Regions from separate parts of the Homo sapiens genome. Here regions 2 and 3 are each linked to region 1. Evidence: promoter capture Hi-C in 16 types of primary human blood cells and fetal thymus (Javierre and others, 2016). All regions are on one chromosome and are shown on one strand. The core of a region is centred on a gene start or on the middle of the fragment in contact, and the rest is flanking DNA. Distances in the headings are between cores, read along the strand shown. Region 1 holds the start of ERCC3 (ERCC excision repair 3, TFIIH core complex helicase subunit). Region 2 overlaps MYO7B (myosin VIIB). Region 3 has its middle 11 kb from the start of SFT2D3.

Region 1 (3,532 bases), core at 233-2,732:
ATTGAACTCCTGACCTTATGATCCCCTGCCTCGGCCTCCCAAAGTGCTGGGATTACAGGCGTGAGCCACCGCGCCTGGCCCAGGCCTCACTTTGAACCATCATGTAGAAATTTCCTCAGCAAAATGTCCAAGCTTATCACTTATAAGTTCTACTTTCCACCCAACAGAATACAATTCAGGCAAGCTCTCTACCACTTGCCTCCAGTTTCAATAACATATTTCTCCTTTCCATCTGAGCCGTCACCAGAATCACCTTTAATGCCCATACTTCTACCAAGGCTCTTCAAGACAATAGAGGCTTTTCTATCATGCGCCTCAAAATTCTTTCAGCCTCTACCGATTACCCAATTTGAAAACCACTTCCCCATTGTTAGGTATTTGTTACAGCAGTACCCTATTCCCCGTACCAAAAATCTGTGTTACGTTCTCCAGAGAAACAGAACCAAGAGGCCCACTGAGCAAGCGAGATTGATTGATTGATTTTAAAGAATTGGCTCATGCAATTGTGGGGGTTGGCAAGTTGGGAATTCAGGTACGAGTTGATGTTGTAGTTTTGAGTCCAAAGGCTGGAAACTCAGTCAGAACTTTCTGTGTTGCAGTCTGGAGGCAGAATTCCTTTTTCCTTGAGAAACCTGTCTTTGCTCTTAAGGCCTTCAACTGATTTGGATGAGGCCCACCCGCATTATTGAGGGTAATCTGCTTTATTTAGGCTGAGACATGAGAATGGCATGAACCCGGGAGGCGGAGCTTGCAGTGAGCTGAAATCGCGCCACTGCATTCCAGCCTGGGCGACAGGGCGAGACTCCGTCTCAAAAAAAAAAAAAAAAAAAAGAAAAAAATTTTTTTTGAGACGAACTCTCGGCCTGTCGCCCAGGCTGTAGTGCAGTGGTGCAATCTCAGCTCAGTGCAGCCTTTACCTTCTGGGTTCAAGAGATTCTCCCATCTCAGCCTCCCAAGTAGCTTAGACTACAGGCGTGTGCCACCATGCCTGGCTACTTTTTTTTGTATTTTTCGCAGAGATGGGGTTTCACCATGTTGGCCAGGCTGGCCTCGAACTCCTGACCTCAAGTGATCCACCCACCTCAGCCTCCCAAAGTGCTGGAATTACAGGCGTGAGCCACCGTGCTCAGCCAAATTTTTTTTAATTAAAAAAAAGAATTCTTCCTTACCCATGGACTCAGGTCACATTCTCTCTCTCTCTCTCTCACACACACATTTATTGCCCACATGGCTTCATTAAAATTTAAGTTCCAGAAGGATGAGGCCTTTAATTCGCGCACTACACAGGTGCTCAACACACAGTATTTTCCTTCAGTTGTAGAGAAATGAACAGTGGAGGACCCCCGCCGCTGGGTCGCACGAGCTAACAGATCGGCGGTCGCTGGCTCTCCGCTCTTCCAGCCACCCACATCACGGCGCCTAGAGGCGGGACATCCTGTGTGGACAACAGGGAGCTTCCGGATTGAGCCGGAAGTCCCCCCAGAGCGGATGCCGCGGCGGGCCTGTGGGAGCGGGGTCATCTTCTCTCTGCTGCTGTAGCTGCCATGGGCAAAAGAGACCGAGCGGACCGCGGTGAGACGTTGCGCGGGCACGCTCAGCCACGACTGCCCTTGCCGGCCCTGCCCCCCGCTCTGCCTCGGAGCTGCTCCGGGCCTCTGCGCCGGCCGACCCTGCTGGCCCTCCCGCGCGCACCCCGTTGGGACAGGCCTTTGGGCGGGAGAGATGCTGGACCTGGGCGCAGCCCAGCGAACTCGGCCTAGGGGAGACGGGTGAGGGGCGCAACGCCTGCGGGATGCAGGTGGCTCTTAGCTAGGAGTTTGCGGCGGCGCAGGTGAAATGCTGCCAAGCGGTGCGGAGGGAACCCTGAAGGCTCCTGCTGGGCTTACTTCTGTGTTGGTATCTTGCAGACAAGAAGAAATCCAGGAAGCGGCACTATGAGGATGAAGAGGATGATGAAGAGGACGCCCCGGGGAACGACCCTCAGGAAGCGGTTCCCTCGGCGGCGGGGAAGCAGGTGGATGAGTCAGGCACCAAAGTGGATGAATATGGAGCCAAGGACTACAGGCTGCAAATGCCGCTGAAGGACGACCACACCTCCAGGCCCCTCTGGGTGGTAAGCATGCCCTTAGCTTGGGCAGGGCCCAGGAGTGTGCGGAGCGGCAGCTAAATCTTGGGCATCCTCAGAGTCAAAACTGACATTCAGGATACTGCCCCTAGAACTGGCCGGGAGAGAATTTTCATCCACACACGTTGGAACAGCCCAAGGCAACAGCGAGCAGTTGCGCACACGTGTGGCGGCCGGACCTGGGCTTCCAACAGCTCTAACCCCTCGGTTTACTCTCACTCCTTCCCCAGCCCTACCCCATGTAGTGAATCCTTTTATCTGCCGAATAAATAGCATTTATCATGTAACAGTTTGTTTCCTCAAATAATGGAAGACATGTTCGGTAGCAAGCTTTTGCTCTACTTTAAATAATTAATGTTATACATTTAGTTGAAATCTAGCCAAAAGGTAACTTGAGGATAGCCAGTAAGATGGGCTTTCTCTGTGCAGAATAGTAGGAAACAGCTGTTGACTTTGGAAACACTTTCTTCTATTTTTCTTTACTCTTCTGTATCTGATTAATGTAACAGGCCCCACAGTTGTCTGAAGGAGTGCTTGCAAGAATATCTGTGGTGTTGGGCAGCTTATTCTTTCTTGATAATGATATGGGCAAGAGCCCAGTAGTCTCTGCAACTCATGTTTCCTTGTCTGTTTTGTCCATTTGGTATCTCTCAGGCTCCCGATGGCCATATCTTCTTGGAAGCCTTCTCTCCAGTTTACAAATATGCCCAAGACTTCTTGGTGGCTATTGCAGAGCCAGTGTGCCGACCAACCCATGTGCATGAGTACAAACTAACTGCCTACTCCTTGTATGCAGCTGTCAGCGTTGGGCTGCAAACCAGTGACATCACCGAGTACCTCAGGAAGCTCAGCAAGACTGGAGTCCCTGATGGAATTATGCAGTTTATTAAGGCAAGTGACAGCTGAGACCAGCAATTCCACCTGCCCTGCTAATGTAACAATAGGCATAGGTGCTCCATGTTGTCAGCCTGTGGCAGCCATGAGAATGTGCCATTCAGATTTCCTGTGGGGAGCATAACGACTGATTACCCCAGCCGCTACACTCTGGATCCAGCATTGTGTTCTGGGTGAGGCCATGCTTCTCATGAGCCGCTACACTCTGGATCCAGCATTGTGTTCTGGGTGAGGCCACGCTTCTCATGAGCCGCTCCCAGCTGTGGGTATTAACACAGAGGGGCTACTAATTCAGGCCCATTGTAGCCAGGGAGAATTTGGAAATGCAGCCCAAAGTGAGTGTGCTGGGGACTGAATTGTGTGTGTTCCCCTCAAATTTTGTCTTCAAAACCTAATATCCAATGGTAATGTATTTGGAGTAAGAAAGTAGTTAAGACTAAATGAGGTCGTGATCCGCTATGATTAGTGTCCTCCTAAGAAGAGACACCGGAGCATGCTTTCTCTCACCTGCCC
Region 2 (3,510 bases), core at 324-2,823, 300 kb before region 1:
GATGTGGCAAACCCACCAGCAGGCACTGTTACCCCACCTGCAGGGTCACAGCGCCAACTGCTGGTGGGGTCCAGGCCACACTGAGCTTAGCCTCGGGTAAGTGTTTAGCTGCGCTTCACTGACGATTTCCTATGGGCCTGGTGTTTCTCACTGAATCTTTACAACATTCCTACCTGGTGGGGGTGATTGGCTCCAACTTAAAGATGAGGTGCTGAGGCATAGGGTTTTGCTTCTAAGGGGCTGAGCCTGGGTTTGAACCCTGAGCAGCCACCAATGAGAGATATCCCAGCCAGAGGCACTCTTAACCCCCGAGCTTCAGCCTCAGGCCTGCCTGCCTGTCCTGCAACTCCCAGCTCCCAAGGTAGGCAGGGTCTGAACGAGCCAAGGGTCTCTGGGAGCCCAGCTACTTCTCCCAGCAGTTAAGGAACAAGATAGGTTATCTCACATCTGCCTATTTTGCCTTCAAGGAAGATGCAACCTAGATTTCATAAGGCAAGCCTCATTTTATTTTTTTAGAGACAGGTCTTGCTCTGTCACCCAGGCTGAAGTGCAGTGGTGTGATCATAGTTCACTGCAGCCTTGACCTCCTGGGCTCAAGTGATCCTCCTCCCTCAGCCTCCTGAGTAGCTGAGACTACAGGCACATACCACCATACCTAGCTAATTTTTATACTTTTAAATTTTTTTGCAGAGATAAGGTCTTACTATGTTGCCCAGGCTTGCCTCAAGCAATCCTCCCGCCTCAGCCTCCCAAAGTGCTGGGATTACAAGCGTGAGCTACTGCACCCAGATCAAACTCGATTTCACATAGTTTTATTCTTTCCAAAAAGCATTTAATTTCATGTAATATTTTTATTCCCTTATGGGGATAAAACCATTTTATATTGTTTCAGCTGATGTCTCCTAGTTTGGGGAATCCCTGCATATGCGGCCTCTGGGTGGGACTCCCCACCCAATGGAGCAGGGACTCCGTTGTGGGCAGGGAGTGTGGGCTCTCACCCCCTCACCGTCTCACAGCAGGTAAAGCTGACTGTCTGCAGGGCTGGTGAAAGGAGTGGTGTCAGCCTCTAAAGTCCTATTACTGATTTCTGCCTTTGTTGAGTGTGGTTTACATATGGGACATGTACTGCAAACCTCATGTCCAACCCTCAGTGCATTCCTGCAGGCAGGAGCAAGTCTGACTTAACAGAAGGGAAAACTGAGGCTCACAGCAGCAAAGAGCCAGGCCAAGAACGCACAGAAGATGCATGGCGGAGCTAAGGGAACTGAGGTCTCAGCAACCCAAAGCTCTGCAGGTCACTGACCTTCACATGACCTAGTCTGGTCACCTTACCCCAGTGTACTTATCTGTAAGGTAGGGGCAGTAACAGCTCTAACGCTAGCCAGGCCCTGGCAGAGGGAGTGACCACAACCCTAGAGGCCATCAGCCTCCTCCTCCTCCCTCCTTTGCTGTGCCCCAGCCTCCTGTCATTACCAGCGGCTTCTTGTACTCATTAGGTTTGATGCAGCGGATGAAGTAAGGCTGGCAGTTGGTCAGGATTTTCATCAGCTGGTCCAGAGACTGTTTGAACTGGCTTCCTAAGGTGGAGGGCCGTTTATTTGAGTCTGCAGACTGTGAATGGAAGCACAGAGCACAAGTGGGTCTCAGGAGCCATGTCCTGGGACAGCTGACCCTGTAGGCCAGCAAGGGTTGCGGCCAAGGCCCCACAGGTGGGGTGGTGCATCTACCTATTCAAGAATCCACCCACCCACCCATCCATGTATCCATCCACCCACTCACCCATCCACCCACCCCTTCACCCATCCACTCACACACCTATCCATCCACCCACCCACCCATCCACCCGCCCACCACCCATCCACCCACTCACCCATCCTTCCACCTACCCAGCACCCATCCACCCACCCACCCATGCGTCCATCCATTCACCCACCCACCCACCCATCCATCCTTCCATCCACTCACCAACCCACATAGCCACCCGCCCATCCATCTATCCATCCACCCTCTCACCCATCCACCCACCCACCCATCCACCCACCCATTCACCCATCCATTCACCCATGCACCCACTCATCCATCCACCCACGCACCACCCATCCACCCACTCACCCATCCATCCACCTACTCACCACCCATCCACCCACTCACCCATCCACCCATGGCCCCACTAAGGCCATGCTCTCCACCCCTCTACCCAGGCGTGGCCCCCACCATCTACCCAGCACAAAGTCACTTCTCCTATCTAAACTCTGGACCCCCCAGATTCCCATTCCCACTCCAAACCCCCTTATATAAGCTGCCACATGCACCCACCCATGCACCCATTCATTCACCATTCCACCCACCCATCCATCCATCCACTCACCCATCCACACAGCCACCCACCCATCCATCTATCCATCCACCCACCCACCCATCCACCCACCCATCCATCCACTCACCCACCCACACAGCCACCTGCCCGTCCATCTATCCATCCACCCACTCACCCATCCACCCATCCATTCACCCATCCACCCACCCACCCGTCCATCCACTCACCCATCCACACAGCCACCCACCCATCCATCTATCCATTCACCCACTCACCCATCCACCCAACCATCGACACACCCATTCACCCATCCACTTACATACCCATCCACCCATCCACTCACCCACCCATCCATCCACCCACCCACCACCCATCCACTCACTCACCCATCCATCCACCCATCCACTACCCATCCACCCACTCACCCATCTATCCACCCAACCACCCATTCACCCGTCCATCCACTCACCCATCCATCCACTCATCCATCCATCCATCCAACCAACCAACCACACATCCATTTACCCATCCACCCTCACACACCCATCCACCCATCCACTCACCCACCCATCCATCCACCCACCCATCCATCCACCCACCCACCACCCATCCATCCACTCACCCATCCACCCACCCACTACCCATCCACCCACTCACCCATCTATCCACCCACCCATCCATTCACCCATCCATCCATCCATTGCAGGATTCCCAAGTGCCAACTGCATGCTGTGGACCCAGAGGTGAGTAAAACAGTCTTTCCTGTACATGTCTGTCTGGCCCTGTAGCCATCAGGGGTGACAGACCCAGGAGGGTGCCTGGGAGCCCACCTTGAAGAGATGGTTTCCTGCCTTTGCCTGGCGGATGGTCCCATGGCCCAGCTTGGTCTCTGCTAACTCCAAGTTGAATATCTCCCTCAGAAACTTGTTTTTGGAGGAGTAAACCAGGGTGAGGATATCTGTGCTCAGCACGTCTCGGTTCTTCTCCAGGAAGCCTGTGGAGACACAGGGCCCACCCAGCATCCCAGCTTAGCCATCACTGCCCACCCATGGGGAAGAAGAGGGCAGTGTGGGGGAATACAGGATGCGTGGAGGAGCCCCCTCCTACAATGGCCCCACTACGGCCATGCTCTCCACCCCTCTACCCAGGCATGGCCCCCACCATCTACCCAGCACAAAGTCACTTCTCCTGTC
Region 3 (3,516 bases), core at 764-3,263, 400 kb before region 1:
TCTTCCTCCTGCACTGGCCATGTAAGACATGCCTGTTCCCCATTTGCACTCTGCCATGATTGTAAGTTTTCTGAGGCCTCCCCAGAAGCTGAGCAGATGCTGCCATGCTTCCTGTACAGCCTGCAGGACCATGAGCCAATTAAACCTCTCTTCTTTATAAATTACCCAGTCTCTGGAATTTCTTTATAGCTATGCAAGAATGGACTAATATAGAAAATTGGTACTGAGGAGTGGGACATTGCTATAAAAATACCTGAAAATGTGGAAGTGACTTTGGAACTGGGTAATGAGCAGAGGTTGGAAGAGTTTGGAGGGCTCAGAAGAAGACAGGAAGATGAGGGGAAATTTGGAACTCCCTACGGACTGGTTAAATGGTTGTGACCAAAATGCTGATAGTAATATGGATAGTGAAGGCCAGGGTGAGGAGGTCTCAGATGGAAATAAGGAACTTAATGGGAACTGGAGCAAAGATAACCTTTGTTACATATTCGCAACAGAACCTGGTGGTGTTGTGCCCCTGCCCTAGGGATCTGTGGCACTCTGAACTTGAGAGTGATGATTTAGGGTATCTGGTGGAAGAAATTTTTAAGCTGCAAAGTGTTTACGGATTGGCCTGGCTGCTTCTAACAACCTACGCTCATATGTGTGAGCAAAGAAATGACCTGAACCTGGAACTTATATTTAAAAGGGAAGCAGAGTGTAAAAGTTTGGAAAATTTGTAGCCTGGCCATGTGGTAGAAAAGAAAAGCTAATTTTCGGGGGAGGAATTCAAGCAGGCTGCAGAAATTTGCATAAGTAAAGAGGAGCCCAAGTGCTAATAGCCAAGACAATGGGGAAAAGGTCTAGAAGGCATTTCAGAGACCTTCGTGGCAGCCCCTCCCAGCACAGGCCTGGATGCTTCAGAGGACTGAATGGTTTTCTAGGTCAGGCCCAGGGCCCTGCTGCCCTGCACAGCCTTGAGACTCTACTCCCTGCATCCCAGCTGCTCCAGCTCCAGCTGGCTGAAAGGGGCCCTGGCCACTGTTTCAGAGGGTGCAAGCCATTAAACTTGGCAACTTTCATGTGGTGTTAAGCCTGCAGGTGCACAGAATGCAAGAGTTTAGGCTTGGGAGCCTCTGCCTAAATTTCAGAGGATGTATGGAAATGCCTGGATGTTCAGGCAGAAACCTGCTGCAGGGGCAAAGCCCTCATACAGAACCTCTACTAAGGCAGTGTGGAAATGTGGGGTTGGAGCCCCCACACAGACTCCCCACTGGGGGACTACCTAGTGGAGCTGTGAGATGAGGACCTCTGTCTTCCAGACCTCAGAATGGTAGATCCACTGGCTGCTTGCATCCTGCACCTGGAAAAGCCACAGGCACTCAAGACCATCCCTTGAGAGCAGCCATGTGGGCTGAACCCTGCAAAGCCACAGGGGGAGAGCTTCCCAAGGCCTTGGGAGCCCAGCTCTCACACTAGTGTCCCCTGGATGTGGGGCATGGTGTCAAATGAGATTATTTTGGACCTTTAAGATTGAACGACTACCCTGCTGGGTTTTGAACTTGCATGGGGCCTGAAGCCCCTTTCTTTTGGCTGATTTCTCCCTTTTGGAATGGGAGTATTTAACCAATGACTGTACCCCCATTGGAAGTAACTAACTTGTTTTTGATTTTACAGGCTCATAGGTGGAAGGAACTTGCCTTGTCTCAGATGAGATTTTGGACTTTTGAGTTAATGCTGGAATAAGTTAACACTTTGTGAGACTGCATGATTATATTTTGAAATATCAGAAGGACATGAGATTTGGGAGGGGCCGGCGGCAAAATGATATGGTTTGTGTCCCCACCCAAATCTCGTGTTAAATTATAATTCCCAGTGTTAGAGGTGGGGCCTGGTGGGAGGTGACTGGATCATGGGGGCAGTTTCCAGTGGTTTAGCACCATCCTCCTTAGTCATAATAGTGAGTTCTCATAAAATCTGGTCATTTACAAGTCTGGGCCAGGCACAGTGACTCACACCTGTAATCCCAGCACTTTGGGGGGCTAAGGGGGGGCAGATCACCTGAGGCCAGGAGTTCAAGACCAGCCTGGCCAACATGGTGAAACCCTGTCTTTACTAAAAACACAAAAATTAGTTGAGTATGGTGGTGGGTGCCTGTAATCCCAGCTACTTGGAAGGCTGAGGCAGGAGAATTACTTGAACCTGGGAGGCAGAGGTTGCAGTGAGCAGAGATTGCACCACTGCACTCCAGCCTAGGCCAGAGTGAGACTCCAGCTCAAAAAAAAAAAAAAAAGTAGCACCTCCCTGCTCCTTCTCTTTTCCTTCTGCTCTGGCCATGTAAGATGTGCCTGTTTCTCCTTCACCTTCTGCCATGAGTATAAGTTTCCTAAGGCCTCCCCAGAAGCCAAGCAGATGCTGCCACACTTCCTGTACAGCCTGCAGAACTGTGAGCCAATTAAATCTCCTTTCTTTATAAATTACCCAGTCTCAGGTATTTCTTTATAGCAATGTAAAAATGGACTAATACACATAAGAATAATGGAGAGAAGTGAGAGAAAGGGACATAAAAATTATTAGAAGGCACAATGGCTGAAAATTTCCCCAAATTATTTGCTTATTTATTTAAAATTTATTAATATTATCATGTTTATAGAAAGAGTCTTGCTCTGTCACCCAGCCTGGAAGGCAGTGGCACAAGCATAGCTCACTCTAACTTTGACTCCCTGGGCTCAAGCATTCTTCCTGCCTCAACCTCCCAAGTAGCTAGGACTACAGGCATGCACCCCAATGCTCAGCTAATTTTCAAGTTTTTTGTAAAGACAGGGTCTTGCTGTATTTCCTAGGCTGGTCTTGAACTCCTAGCCTCAAATGATCATCCCACTTCAGCCTCCTAAAGTCCTGAGCTTACTCATCACCTAAAGGCAAGAGCCACTGTGCCTGACCAATTTCCCCAACTTTGATGAAAAACATTATTCTAAACATCTGAGAAACAATGAATTTCAAGTAGGATGAACACAAAGGCATTCACACTCAGACATATTATAGTCAAATTTTGAAAGCCAAAGATAAAGATAAAATCTTAAATGCAGCAAAAGGAATACAATTCATTGTGTACCAGTAGTACAATAATATTGACAAATGATGTCTCATCAGAAGCAATGGGGGCTAGAAAGCCGTGGTATGACATGTTCAAAGTGCTTAACAGTAAAAACAAAACAACAACAAAAAACCTGTTAACCAATAATTCCATACCCAACAAAACTATCTTTCAACAATAATGGCAAAATAAAAAGCACTCCAAAATAAATAAAATCTGACTGAATTTATTGCTACCAGTCCTGAGTAACAAGAAATATTTAAGGTTTTTCAGATAGAAAGCAAGTGACACCAGAAACTAATTTGAATCCACATGAAAAACAAAAGTGTTGGTAAAAGTAGATAATTACAATATAAAGTATAATTGCATATTTCTTCTTCTCCTCTTAACTGATCTAAAAAGTAATTGCATAAGAAAATATGCATGTAACTTTTTATGGG

What was found. Contacts are between HindIII fragments. The CHiCAGO score rates a contact against its expected background, and 5 or more counts as called.
Region 2: a fragment that was not itself captured here is called in contact with the fragment with the promoter of ERCC3 in region 1 in 1 of 17 cell types (neutrophils); the score reaches 5.6 in neutrophils.
Region 3: a contact is called between a fragment that was not itself captured here and the fragment with the promoter of ERCC3 in region 1, in 4 of 17 cell types (neutrophils, megakaryocytes, erythroblasts and 1 more). The highest score is 5.7, in neutrophils.

The regions. Positions count from the first base shown.
Region 1 is chr2:127,292,094-127,295,625 of GRCh38, reverse strand. ERCC3 (ERCC excision repair 3, TFIIH core complex helicase subunit) reads left to right here and starts at 1,482. Exons shown (of 15, transcript NM_000122.2): 1 at 1,482-1,572; 2 at 1,908-2,113; 3 at 2,780-3,016. The coding sequence starts at 1,545. The HindIII fragment of the contact is 2,323 bases long and covers 135-2,457 here.
Region 2 is chr2:127,588,193-127,591,702 of GRCh38, reverse strand. MYO7B (myosin VIIB) reads right to left here. Exons shown (of 48, transcript NM_001393586.1): 15 at 3,148-3,311; 16 at 1,474-1,611. Among named protein-coding and RNA genes, the nearest start is that of MYO7B-AS1, 41 kb to the left of the region's middle. The HindIII fragment of the contact is 8,153 bases long and covers 1-3,510 here.
Region 3 is chr2:127,688,296-127,691,811 of GRCh38, reverse strand. No RefSeq gene overlaps it. Among named protein-coding and RNA genes, the nearest start is that of SFT2D3, 11 kb to the left of the region's middle. The HindIII fragment of the contact is 6,533 bases long and covers 1-3,516 here.